4 separate regions of the Homo sapiens genome follow, and regions 1, 2 and 4 are each linked to region 3. Evidence: promoter capture Hi-C in 16 types of primary human blood cells and fetal thymus (Javierre and others, 2016). All regions are on one chromosome and are shown on one strand. Each heading gives the region's core, a stretch centred on a gene start or on the middle of the fragment in contact. The rest is flanking DNA. Distances are from core to core; before and after follow the strand shown. Region 1 holds the start of MST1R (macrophage stimulating 1 receptor). Region 2 holds the start of CAMKV (CaM kinase like vesicle associated). Region 3 holds the start of BSN (bassoon presynaptic cytomatrix protein). Region 4 holds the start of MON1A (MON1 vesicular trafficking associated A).

Region 1 (3,146 bases), core at 111-2,610, 350 kb before region 3:
CGGCCTCCCAAAGTGCTGGGATTACAGGCGTGAGCCACCACGCCCGGTCACATATTTTATTTTAAAAACATTTTTAGCAGTTTTTTTGTTTTGTTGAGTTTTGTTATGTTGCCCAGGCTGGTCTTGAACTCCTAACCTCAAGCAATCCTCCTGCCTTGGCCCCTCAAAGGAGTGCTAGGATTACAGGCATGAGCCACGGTGCCCAGCCCAGAACTACATTCTCATTGAAGAGAATAAGATCCAGCAAGGCCTACAGAGCATGTTGGAAGTGTCCTGAGAGCCAAAGCCCATGATTCCTCCATATCAGGGGGGCACTGGGTAGAGCCAGGAAGGAAGGGGGAGTCCCCAAGGCCCATACTGTGGACCCCATTATACAGCTTCCATATACTGAGGCTGCAGAGGAGGTATGGGCCTCCACTTACGTGCCTCTCTGACTCTGAGGTCCAGTCAGCAAGGCCAGATCCCATCCTAAGACCCTTATGGCCCTGGGAGAGCAGGGCATAACACACCTTCCTCTGACACCATCTTGTCGCTGATAGCTCAGGAGAAGCACATGGAAGAATGGTCCCGGCCGGGCGCGGTGGCTTACGCCTGTAATCCCAACAGTTTGGGAGGCTGAGGCGGGCGGATCACCTGAGGTCAGGAGTTTGAGACCAGCCTGGCCAACACTGTGAATCCTGTCTCTACTAAAAATACAAAATTAGCCGGGTGTGGTGGTGCGCGCCTGTAATCCCAGCTATTCAGGAGGTTGAGACAGGAGGAGGTTGAGGCTGGAGAATCGCTTGAACCTGGGAGGCGGAGTTTGCAGTGAGCCGAGATCGCGCCACTGCAATCCAGCTTGGGCCACAGAGCAAGACTCCTTCTCAAAAAAAAAAAAGGACAGTCCTTTCCCACAAAGGGTGGCGCCCCATAACATCTCTTGTAAGTGCCCCACATCTCCCCTCTGGTCTTCCACACAATCCTGGTCTCTGTTCTCCACATGGTGGGCCCCCAGGCCACCTCTGGGCACCAGCCACTGAGGGTGTTGCTACTAAGTGCAAACTAGTTCCACCGCAAGCAAAGAGCCCAGTGTCCTGCCCCCCTTCTCGCTGCGAACCAGTCGGTAGTGGGGGGATGGGATGGGACGGCTCAGACTGGCTCACCTCTCTCCAGGCCACACCATGCACATCCACCCACAGGCCGCTGAGAAAAAGGCGCCAAGACGCCAGGTGAAGGTACAGGAGCCAGGCCTCCAAGGGCCGGAAGAGTCGGATGGGCGGAGGGCCTGGGCTAGGCCAAGCCTTCCTCGCGGCCCCGCCCCCACGGCCCGACTCCGCCCGCCCAGCCCGGCGCCCTCGGGTCGGCTGAGCGCTAAGCGCCAGTGTACAGCGGCGGCTGGGGCGGCAGGTGAGGCGGCTGGGGCGTTGCTGTCGTGCGTCCGCAGGCGTCAGGTGCTCAGACCCGAGGGCCGGGAAGGGATTTGGGTTTCACAGGAACCTGGGGCGGGGGTCCGCTATCTTGGGGCTGTCGGGACCGCTGCTTAAATTTGGCCCAGTCCAGACCTCGAGTCGGGCCCCCAGCCAGGCCCACGCCCAGGTCCAGGCCCAGGCCGGTAGGGATCCTCTAGGGTCCCAGCTCGCCTCGATGGAGCTCCTCCCGCCGCTGCCTCAGTCCTTCCTGTTGCTGCTGCTGTTGCCTGCCAAGCCCGCGGCGGGCGAGGACTGGCAGTGCCCGCGCACCCCCTACGCGGCCTCTCGCGACTTTGACGTGAAGTACGTGGTGCCCAGCTTCTCCGCCGGAGGCCTGGTACAGGCCATGGTGACCTACGAGGGCGACAGAAATGAGAGTGCTGTGTTTGTAGCCATACGCAATCGCCTGCATGTGCTTGGGCCTGACCTGAAGTCTGTCCAGAGCCTGGCCACGGGCCCTGCTGGAGACCCTGGCTGCCAGACGTGTGCAGCCTGTGGCCCAGGACCCCACGGCCCTCCCGGTGACACAGACACAAAGGTGCTGGTGCTGGATCCCGCGCTGCCTGCGCTGGTCAGTTGTGGCTCCAGCCTGCAGGGCCGCTGCTTCCTGCATGACCTAGAGCCCCAAGGGACAGCCGTGCATCTGGCAGCGCCAGCCTGCCTCTTCTCAGCCCACCATAACCGGCCCGATGACTGCCCCGACTGTGTGGCCAGCCCATTGGGCACCCGTGTAACTGTGGTTGAGCAAGGCCAGGCCTCCTATTTCTACGTGGCATCCTCACTGGACGCAGCCGTGGCTGCCAGCTTCAGCCCACGCTCAGTGTCTATCAGGCGTCTCAAGGCTGACGCCTCGGGATTCGCACCGGGCTTTGTGGCGTTGTCAGTGCTGCCCAAGCATCTTGTCTCCTACAGTATTGAATACGTGCACAGCTTCCACACGGGAGCCTTCGTATACTTCCTGACTGTACAGCCGGCCAGCGTGACAGATGATCCTAGTGCCCTGCACACACGCCTGGCACGGCTTAGCGCCACTGAGCCAGAGTTGGGTGACTATCGGGAGCTGGTCCTCGACTGCAGATTTGCTCCAAAACGCAGGCGCCGGGGGGCCCCAGAAGGCGGACAGCCCTACCCTGTGCTGCGGGTGGCCCACTCCGCTCCAGTGGGTGCCCAACTTGCCACTGAGCTGAGCATCGCCGAGGGCCAGGAAGTACTATTTGGGGTCTTTGTGACTGGCAAGGATGGTGGTCCTGGCGTGGGCCCCAACTCTGTCGTCTGTGCCTTCCCCATTGACCTGCTGGACACACTAATTGATGAGGGTGTGGAGCGCTGTTGTGAATCCCCAGTCCATCCAGGCCTCCGGCGAGGCCTCGACTTCTTCCAGTCGCCCAGTTTTTGCCCCAACCCGGTAAGCTGAAAGAAGGGGCCCTTACTTGTGAGCTGCATGCACATGGCTGAACACAGGCTGCTTCCCTTCCATCACTGAGGGGATCTGGGGGCGCGGTGGGGGGGCAGGCGGAAAGAAGCATTCTCTCTCACCCAGTTCCTAAGTGCTGGGGTGGTGTGAGAAACCAGCCAGACAAAGGCTACACTGGAGGCTTAGCTCCCAGGCTGGCCCTTGTGGCTGCCTCATCTTGCTCTTTCCCCTACCTGCCCATCATGGCCTCTGGTTTTTTAGGTAGTTTCCCTGGCTATGTGAGG
Region 2 (3,010 bases), core at 316-2,815, 310 kb before region 3:
CCCGGCCCGGGGTGCGAATCCGGTGCCGGCAAGCGGCTGGCGATGCTGGAGGTTCGCTAGCCGAAGCGGCTGCATCTGGCGCCGCGTCTGCCCCGCGTGCTCGGAGCGGATTCTGCCCGCCGTCCCCGGAGCCCTCGGCGCCCCGCTGAGCCCGCGATCACTTCCTCCCTGTGACCAACCGGCGCTGCAGGTGCGGGGCGGGCCGGGCTGGGGGCGCTTCCCGAACGCAGGTTGTGGGGCCTTGGGGGATTGTTTCCCTGGCTCGAGGTGCGGGATGCAGAGTGCGCGGGGGCGCAGCGAGGGCTCGAGGTCCTGGCGGGGTCAGAGCGCGCGGGCTTTGCAGATTTGGGGGAGGGAGTGCGGGGTCGGGCTAAAGTTCCCCATTACCTCGGACGGCTTGGGGGTTCTGGGGGGAAGCTTCTGCGGCTCGGAATTGTGAAAAGATTAACCCTCGAAGATTCGTGGTCCCCCGTGAGGATAGGGGCCGAGAGCTGAGCCGTCCCTCCCCGTTCCCAGAGCCGCCTCCAGCCCCTCCCAACTGTCCCCGGGCCCCTTCCCTCCCGCTTAGCAGTCACTAATTTCCATGACAACGGAGAGTTCTTTATGGGCGACAACCCGGAGGGGGCTGGGCGGGGCTGCCGCGGGGTGGGGGAGGAAGCTCCAAGCCCCTGGGGACCAGCAGCCCCCCAGCCAAAATTCAGCTTCCAAGCCTTCACCTGGGTGCCAGCTGGGGGTCCAGTGCATGGACCCACGTGCACGGTGGGGGTGGGGGCGCACATGTTCCTGCTGGGAGGTGCGGGGCTTGGTGCTCACACGTGTGCTTTCCGCATGTGTGTTGCTGTGCCAGCGGGGGCGAGCCAGCAGCACTTGGGAAAGGGGTCAGGGTGGCAGCACGGTGGGGAGCAGGGCCCCTGGCTGGAGGTGGCTGGGATAGTGACAGCATGAGCTTCTGCCTTCCCCAGCTTGTACTGTTTGGCAGAGACCCTGGGCTCTTGAGCCCCAGCCCCCTCCCCGCATAGCTCTGCCAAATTGCTTTTGTCCGCACCTCCCAGGCAGATCCTGCTCCACCAGGTTCCTTCCTAAGGATCAGGGCCCTCTGTCCCACACTAAAAGCTCAGAGTCTGCAGTAGTCCAGTCCCTGTGCTGTACTCCCCTTACCCCCAAGTCCAGGCTTTGAGCCCCCAGGACTACCTTTAGAGACCTGGTGCCCTCCCCCACCCTCAGAGTTGATTCCTGGCAGCTCCAGCGACTTCTGAGCCTCAGTTTCCTCAACTGGGGAACTGGTGTCTCCACTCAGAGTCAGGTTGGTTTCCAGGGTGGGGCAAGGGTCTCCCTTTTCTAATATTTGGTGTGGACCCTTCAGGTGCTCTCCTAGGCTGGCTGTTCACATATCTCTGATGGCCCTACTCTCCAGCCCCATGCCCTGGCCACCATTCACAGGCAGGCAAGCAGTCCTCTGCCCTGGGAGAAGGCCAGATTCCATGGTTTCCATTAGGGGAAACTGAGGCATGGGGAGGTGAAGGGCTGTGTGGTTATCCTGTTTCTGGGTTGCTTGTGGTGCCGTTTCTGGCACTCATGGCAGGATCTGCTGTTGGGGGTTGGTGAGAGGGGATTAAGCAGAGCTGTAAGAGGGGCTCTGGGGACCCAAAGCCTGGAAAGGATAGCAGATGGGGGAGGGGTTGGCTGGGAGGGTCTAAGTACAGCTGGGCCAACTGAGAAGAGGGACTATAAAGGGAAGCAGCCAGGCATCCGAGCCTCATTTCCATACCCCTATGCGTCTGCCTTCAACATGTTGGACCTGCTTTACCTAAGCTGCCGTGATGGCAGAGAGACGGGCTGGGAACTGTCCTGACTGGGGGGCTGCAGCAGCTGGCCTCTTCCCCACCAACATGCTCCAAGGAGCTGGCCTCCTTTTGGCTGTGCCTCCTACACCAAGTTCAGTGTATGTTTGGGGGATACAGGAGGGTGCAGTCTCGAAGGTCCCAGTACCATGGATAGCTCCTGGCCCAGGGATTTAGAGCACATCGCCATGGAGGCCTTAGGGCTCTGCTGGGCACCCATCCGCCCCCTTCAGAACTCCCGTCCACCTCCCCTTTCCTGCCCTTTGTGCCTGTGTCCCTTTTACTTTGTCATCTCCTTGCTCCTCTTCCATCACAGGTTCTGTCTTTGTCTGTGTCTCTGCCCCATTCTCTTTTTTCTAAATTCTCTCCATCTCCCCACCTCCCCTTTCTTGATGGGGACCTGGGTCACAGAACCTTGAAGAAGCAGCCAGGCTAAGGTCTCAGGAAATTCTTGAAGAAGGGACCTGACCAACACATCTCCCCTCCCCCTCCCCTTGTTTTAAAACTTCCATCACCATAGCAACCCTTTACTCTAGTGCCTTCCTCTGCATTTCCCCTCCTCCACCCACAGGGAAGCAGAGCCTCCAGTGGATTCTCCTTCAGGGGTTCAGAGATTTGGACCCCAAGTGCTTGGGAGGAGACAGCTGGCCTTTGGCTTTGCCTGCATGTTGACAGCTAAACTTTCGGGATGTAGCACTGGACTGCATGCCCACCCCCAAAACTGGAGAGACCTCCCCACAATACTCCCTCATTAGATGGGCAAAATTCAGCTGTAGGAACTTCTACCATGATTTAGCTCGAGCCGGAGGCTCAGTCAGGGCAGCCCCTTGACCGGTCCCCTGAAGCAATTGGATGGTGGTCTAGAAGCTTGGCCCTTGTTCTTAACAGACCTTGAGGGAGGTCTTCAGCTCCCCTGGTCCTGTGGGTGACACCTCAGCTGTGAGTTAAGCAGGGCTTGGGCTTCAGCATGTTCATTGCAGCAGGAAACCCAGCCCCAGCCCTTGAGAGAGTAGAGCAGCAGAGAGGAGGGGGTGCCTGCAGGCTGGTGTTCACAGCTGCCACTAAATTAGGAGGTGTTGCCTACAGTTGTTGGGAGGCAGCTGGAGGCCTCTTGGGCCCCTCCTGGCCTCCCTAGATTTACTGCAAGCTCTGGAGCCCCACGTGGCAGG
Region 3 (3,052 bases), core at 230-2,729:
AGTTGTCTAAGAAATGACTTCTGAGGAAATAAACACACAAGAGGCACAGTCGGGCAGCCAAAGAATAAAAAATTATGCGTCCTCAGTTTATGTGCTTCCACACAGAAAAGCCAGGGCAACATATATCAGCAGACCCACATGGAGCTGGAAGCACCTCCCTCCCACCCCCTGGGGGTTTTGCTACTCCCCAAGCCTATTTGGTGCAAAGATAATGCCTTCCATTTTATCGTGTCATCTCTTAGTAGTTTTCCTGAGTTTTCAGTCTACTGACTTATTATATATTGGCATTCCCTTACAGCCTTCATTGCCACTTGACTGTTTTTGCAGGACCTGGGTTGGCATACATTTAAAACAAACTGGTTTCACAGTATTTAATCAGATATGTTCTGTTTAAAGCATTCTGTGTGGGTTTCAGCTTTTCCACTGGTTTGATCTAAATCATAAGGTAACGAGAACATATCTGGTGCTGGATGACTCAATAGCATTTTTGCTTCACCCCAAAATGTTTCCCTAAACCTTGGTGAAAGCACATGATCCTATTAGTATTGTTGGGCCTAAATAAGCACCTCTTGGTGTCCAGTGGGCAATTTTCCTTTCCCCCAAAGGTGATTACAGCCACTAAATGCCCAAGGAAAGCCCAAGACCAAGTTCATGGTTCAACTATTTTCATCTCTCTGTTCCTCGCAGTGACACTTATCTTCCCTGACAGCCACTCCCATTGTGCTGTTTTCTCGGCCCAGCACAATGGACACATGCAGACACCAGCAGACAGGGAGGACGTTTTCCATCCCATTGCTCTCCTGTGCGGAGGGACCAGGTTAAGGTTACATAAGCCCCTCCTGAGCAGTCAGGCCCGAGCGTTGGGGAGAAGCGAATTTGGGGTTCGTGACGGAGTCACGGTCTGCAGGCCCCGACTGACCCTGCGCTCGTCATCCTGCCACGCCAAGGCGGGGCAGCTGGAAAGGAAGGGCCGCTTCCCGCGACCACCCAGTTCACGCCAATCCGGCAGGGTTCAGAGTGCGGCCGGACGTCGAACCTCGCTGTCCACACTAGATCGCGGGATCCTGGGCCCGGGTCCCGGCCTCAGGCTGCAGCTCACCGCCCCCCGGGCGCCGAGACACGCGCTTACCTGCCCGGGCCAGGGCCGGGACCGGGGCCGGGGCCGGGGCCAGGGACCGGTGGTACCGCGGTCGACCGCGCTGCTCCCGCCGCGGGGAGCTGTCCGCCACCGGCCGGTGCTGAAGGCGGCTTTCCTGCGCCGGGGCCGGGGCCGGGGCCCGGGCCGGGGCCGGCGCCGCCGGGCGGCAGCGGCCCGTCGCCAGCGCCGCCCTCCAGGCTGACCTCGTTGCCCATGGCGGGCAGGCGGGCGGGCGGGGTCGGGGTCGCGCTGCGCCCGGGCCGGCGGCTCCCGGGCGGTGCTCACACTCTCGGCGCCGCCGCTGCCGCCGCCATCTCCCAGCTCGGCTCGCGCCGCCGCCTGCCGCTGCGCATGCGCGTCTCGCGCCCCCTTCCCTGCACACGCCCCCCTTCCCCTGTGCGCGCTCCCGCCAGCCTCGGGGTCGCTGGGAAACAGCCGCCGGCGCCCGCGCATGCGCTGTCCAGGGCCGACGCGGTTGTATCATGCTGAGAAGGAGCCGGGCGGGGGCCGGCGGGGCTGCGAGGGCCCTGTGAGGAGGGGCACCTGCCACTAGAAGCGGCCTCTGGGACGTCGCGCTGAGCCCTGCTTTGGAGTCAGAGGGGCTTTCCGCCTCGGTGAACTCGAGAGTAGCAACTCTCCTCCGGGTAACCGGAGTGCCACAGCGGGCAGGCGTCATAAGGACAGGCCTCGGAGAGGAGAGGGGCTACCCGAGAATGGCCTCAAAAGTATGCATAGGAGTTGGGAAGGCAGAGGAACAAGTGTATTCAGAGACGCAAGGTCGTAGAGGGAAGGAGAGGGAGGGTGCTGGGTGGTCGGGCCGGATTGTGAGGGTCTTTAAGGCCAGCTGGGGAGTGGAGCCTTTATCCAGATGGCGATGGGAACCATCTGGGATTCACACTGAGGAACTGGGAGTCTCAGGAAGCGCCCCGGGCACAGATGGAAGGTGTGACAGGGCTGTGTGAAGCCAGCTGGGAGGCCACCTCAGTCAGCCCTGGGAGAGTGACCTTGGGGATGGAAAAGAGGACTTGATGGTTCTCAGGCCTGGAGCTGTCTCGATGCGGGGCCGCAGGTTGCCTCTGCATTACCCTGAGAGCTTTCCAAATTACTTCCCCGCTCCCTCACATTTACAGCCGGTTTCTGCCCGCTACTCAGGATTGTCTGCCGTGGTGGCTTCTCACACAAGCCTGTACTTTCCTGTGGGAGAATATTTCCTAGGAGCCTATATTCCAGTTCATCTCTGACGTCATAAATCATGACTGTGTAGAAAGGCGTGAGTAACTTGAACCCATTTTACAAACCCATTCAATTCTCCTAATGTTGCGAAATATATCACATAGGGTGTTAGCAGTTCTAACTGAACCTAGAATAATCCAGGGATCCCAGTGAATGCTGATAGCCAGCCTGCTGGACAGACCGGTGGCTGTGTCAGTTCTTGTGAGGAGGGGCCAGGACCCTCCCTGGGCCTTCCCCTGTGCACTCCGAGCTGCTCCTCCCGACCTCTGGGATGGAGCAAGTAAGAGAAAGAGGAAATGCAGAGCCCCCACTTCCTGATATTTTCTCCTGACTTCATACCTCCCGTTTTCACGCTAAACTGCCTGGCCCCTCTGGGATGACCTAGGATGAAGAGAGCCTCTCTTCCTGCAGATGATGGTCCTTGCTGTGTTTCCTCCTGTGCTGCAGGATGTTTGATACAGCTTCGTGAGTGGTGACTACATGTGCACATTTAGGCTCCAAAAGAGTCTGCACCTCAGCCCCGATAGGACCCTTGGCAACTGACTTAGGCTCACTGAGCCTCCATTTCCTATTCTGCAAAGTTAGAATCTTAGTAGCTCCTCGAATATGGGGGATTGTAAGGGTAGAGTGGCTGATGTAGATATTTTATTTTTTATTCATTTTATTTTTTTTATTTTTATT
Region 4 (2,784 bases), core at 11-2,510, 380 kb before region 3:
TAGAGAGGAAAAGGACACTGCCCCCAGGTGCTTGTGGAGCAGCAGGGAAAGTCAGAGGAGTGATCTGACTTTTTTTTTCATCCTATTAACTTTTGGGAGAATTAACCATAAGGCTGTAAAGTGAATTAATTGCTTCAGAAAAGAACATGAGCAGTGGTGCCAAACACTAATTTTACTTTTTAAAACCATCTCTAAAAATAAGGGTCTTTTGGGAGAGCCTGTTGTTGACTGTTTTCCTGTTGTTTTTATTGCTTTGCGTCTAGGAAATTACAAACAATGATTCTTTGCAATGGTAAATCACCTGGGGAGCTTTTAAAACAATAGTGATGCCTGGCTCCCCAACACTCCACCCTACTCTAAATTCAATTAAATCAAAATCTCTAGGGCTGGTGTCCAGGCATTAGTTTTTTTGTTGTTGTTTTTGAGACAGGGTCTCGCTCTGGTGCTCAGGCTGGAGTGCAGGGCATGATCATGGCTCACAGCAACCTCGACCTCCTGGAATCCCACTTCAGCCTCCCGAGTATCTGGGACTACAGGCACACGCCATCAAGCCTGGCTAGTTTTTGTATTTTTAGTAGAGATGGGGTTTCACCATGTTGGCCAGGCTGGTCTGGAACTCCTGACCTCAAGTGATCCGCCCACCTCGGTCTCCCAAGTGTTGGGATTACAGGCGTGAGCCGCCTCGCCCGTCCTAGTTCTTTTTTTTTTTTTTTAAAGCTTCCCGGCTTATTCTATGTGCCGTCAGAGTTGAGAACTACCGTTCTAGAGCATTATACTGATACATTAAAACGTGGCTACAAATATGTTTTTAGAAACAATTAGTGCGACTTTTGCGCATGCCCACATCCTTTACAGCCTGTGTGGCTGGGCCCACTAATGACATTTATCCAGTCCCCCAAACTTGCACTGTCCTTCCACAATCAGTGGGAGAAACAATCCTAACGTCCCTTTCTCTCACTTGAAATGAACTGCTAGCTGGCTCGGACGGAGAGGCCCAGAGTCCAGGGCTGTTCTGTGTGGGACTCTAGACTCGGAGGAGGCGCCCAGGCCCCTAGAAGGCGGCGCCGGATGAGGCAATCGCGGACCCGGGTCAGGACCTGCCCACGGCTCTGCTGGGACTAGGAGCCCAGAACCAGTCCCTCGGCGCCGCAGGCGGCCAAACGCTAAGGACTACATTTCCCACAATGCACCCCGGGGGCGGGCCGAGTCGGGCTGAGCGGCTGGAGCTGGGCCTTGGCCGCGAGAGGCCGGCGAAAGCTATCTTCCTGCACCGGCGGCCGGGTGAGGGCGGTGGGAGGGAGCGGTGCCTGCGCTGTGGCCATGTCTGTGTACGCAGGGGGCCGGGGCCCCGCGAAGCTGTGCCCTCAGGCCGGCCCCGGCCGGACACCCTTACCCCTCCATGGGTCCGGCAGAGGGCAGTGACCGGCACCTTCTGTGCGTCCTGGACTCCTCTGAGAAACAGGTGAGTTGACTGCCAGCCCACGTGGCCTGGAGGCACCTAGAGACTGGAGAGCTGTCATCTTTGGAGGGAGGGGCTTGAAGACGGGGGCCTCCAGCCATCAACGCTATCGTTTGCAATGGGAAGACTGTGTCTCCCTGCGGTCCCTCAGCCGGCTAGTCCCCAGCTGGGGAATACAAAAGGCGAGATCTGGAACCCATCCTTTGGCTGGGAGGGCGAGATCCGGTAGGGGGCAGTGGCCAGGTAGGACTCTCCCCACTCCCCCACCCCCGCCCCGCCAACAAACGTACACATATTCGGCCGGTAGAGTCTTCTCAAAAAGCAACAGAGGTAACTGGGATGAGCGGGGCAGCACCTGGAAGGGGCTTGGGTCTTTGCTTTGTTGTTTTTAGACGGAGTTTCACTCTTGTTGCCCAGTCTGGAGTGCAGTGGTGTGATCTCAGCTCTCTGCAACCTCCGCCTCCCAGGTTCAAGCGATTCTCCTGCCTCAGCCTCCCGAGTAGCTGGGATTACAGGCATGCGCCACCACGCCCAGCTAATTTTTTGTATTTTTGTATTTTTTTAGTAGAGACGGGGTTTCACCATGTTGGCCAGGCTCGTCTTGAACTCCTGACCTCAGGTGATCTGCCTGCCTCAGCTTCCCAAAGTGCTGGGATTACAGGCATGAGCCACTGCGCCTGGCCGGACTTTGCACCAGTTTGCCTGGTGCAACTGGGTTGTCCCTTGTACTGGGTGAGCCACCCTTTCTGGGCACAAGTTTGCAGAGGGAGAGTGAGCACCCTTTGTCAGGGAGGGAAGTAACCGCCAGAAGTGACAAGGACCAGACTGTGATCTCAGCATGGAGTAGGCATCCTGCTGAAGCAGCCATAGCACAGCCTCACCTGGGCCTTGTCTGCCACACATCCTGTATCCTGGCACCTCCTTTCCAGACAGGCCGCTCCAAAGGGTTAAGGTGAAATGAAGTGCTATCCAAGCAAGAAGAGGGAGCAGGAGTGGTAGGGAGTCAGTAGGGAGGGGCTTCTGAAGGCCTTCTCTGCTCCAAGGCTGCCTGAGTGAGAGAGGCACACTACAAGGGCTGATTGAGCCAACTTGTTTGGTGACATTGCTCACAGGCATAGCAGGGCACTTCTAGGAAAAGCAAGGCCTGGGGCTTCTAGAGGGGTTGTCTGAGAAGGGTTCCCTGAGAAGGGGCATCTGGGGCTGGTTCTAAGAGACCTCCTTTGCCTAACTTCTTCAATTCTAGCCTCCCAGGAGCTTCAGTTGCACAGTTGTGGCTCCAATGGGGGTTGGGGTGGATTTTGCTGTGATTCACTCAGCCTCCCTGT

What was found. Contacts are between HindIII fragments. The CHiCAGO score rates a contact against its expected background, and 5 or more counts as called.
Region 1: a contact is called between the fragment with the promoter of MST1R here and the fragment with the promoter of BSN in region 3, in 4 of 17 cell types (M0 macrophages, M1 macrophages, M2 macrophages and 1 more). The highest score is 6.3, in M0 macrophages.
Region 2: a contact is called between a fragment that was not itself captured here and the fragment with the promoter of BSN in region 3, in 1 of 17 cell types (M1 macrophages). The highest score is 6.3, in M1 macrophages.
Region 4: the fragment with the promoter of MON1A here is called in contact with the fragment with the promoter of BSN in region 3 in 2 of 17 cell types (erythroblasts and endothelial precursors); the score reaches 6.0 in erythroblasts.

The regions. Positions count from the first base shown.
Region 1 is chr3:49,902,087-49,905,232 of GRCh38, reverse strand. MST1R (macrophage stimulating 1 receptor) reads left to right here and starts at 1,360. Exons shown (of 20, transcript NM_002447.4): 1 at 1,360-2,853. The coding sequence starts at 1,624. RefSeq lists enhancers at 315-987, 976-1,025, 1,662-2,335, 2,336-3,009 and a silencer at 1,216-1,435. The HindIII fragment of the contact is 26,972 bases long and covers 1-3,146 here.
Region 2 is chr3:49,866,938-49,869,947 of GRCh38, reverse strand. CAMKV (CaM kinase like vesicle associated) reads left to right here and starts at 42. Exons shown (of 11, transcript NM_024046.5): 1 at 42-190. RefSeq lists enhancers at 358-1,289, 1,290-2,222. The HindIII fragment of the contact is 2,291 bases long and covers 420-2,710 here.
Region 3 is chr3:49,552,904-49,555,955 of GRCh38, reverse strand. BSN (bassoon presynaptic cytomatrix protein) reads right to left here and starts at 1,479. Exons shown (of 12, transcript NM_003458.4): 1 at 1,130-1,479. The coding sequence starts at 1,353. BSN-DT (BSN divergent transcript) reads left to right here and starts at 1,590. Exons shown (of 3, transcript NR_038866.1): 1 at 1,590-1,915; 2 at 2,269-2,408. RefSeq lists silencers at 1,092-1,301, 1,372-1,671. The HindIII fragment of the contact is 4,717 bases long and covers 1-3,052 here.
Region 4 is chr3:49,928,287-49,931,070 of GRCh38, reverse strand. MON1A (MON1 vesicular trafficking associated A) reads left to right here and starts at 1,260. Exons shown (of 6, transcript NM_032355.4): 1 at 1,260-1,462. RefSeq lists a silencer at 1,204-1,553. The HindIII fragment of the contact is 4,855 bases long and covers 720-2,784 here.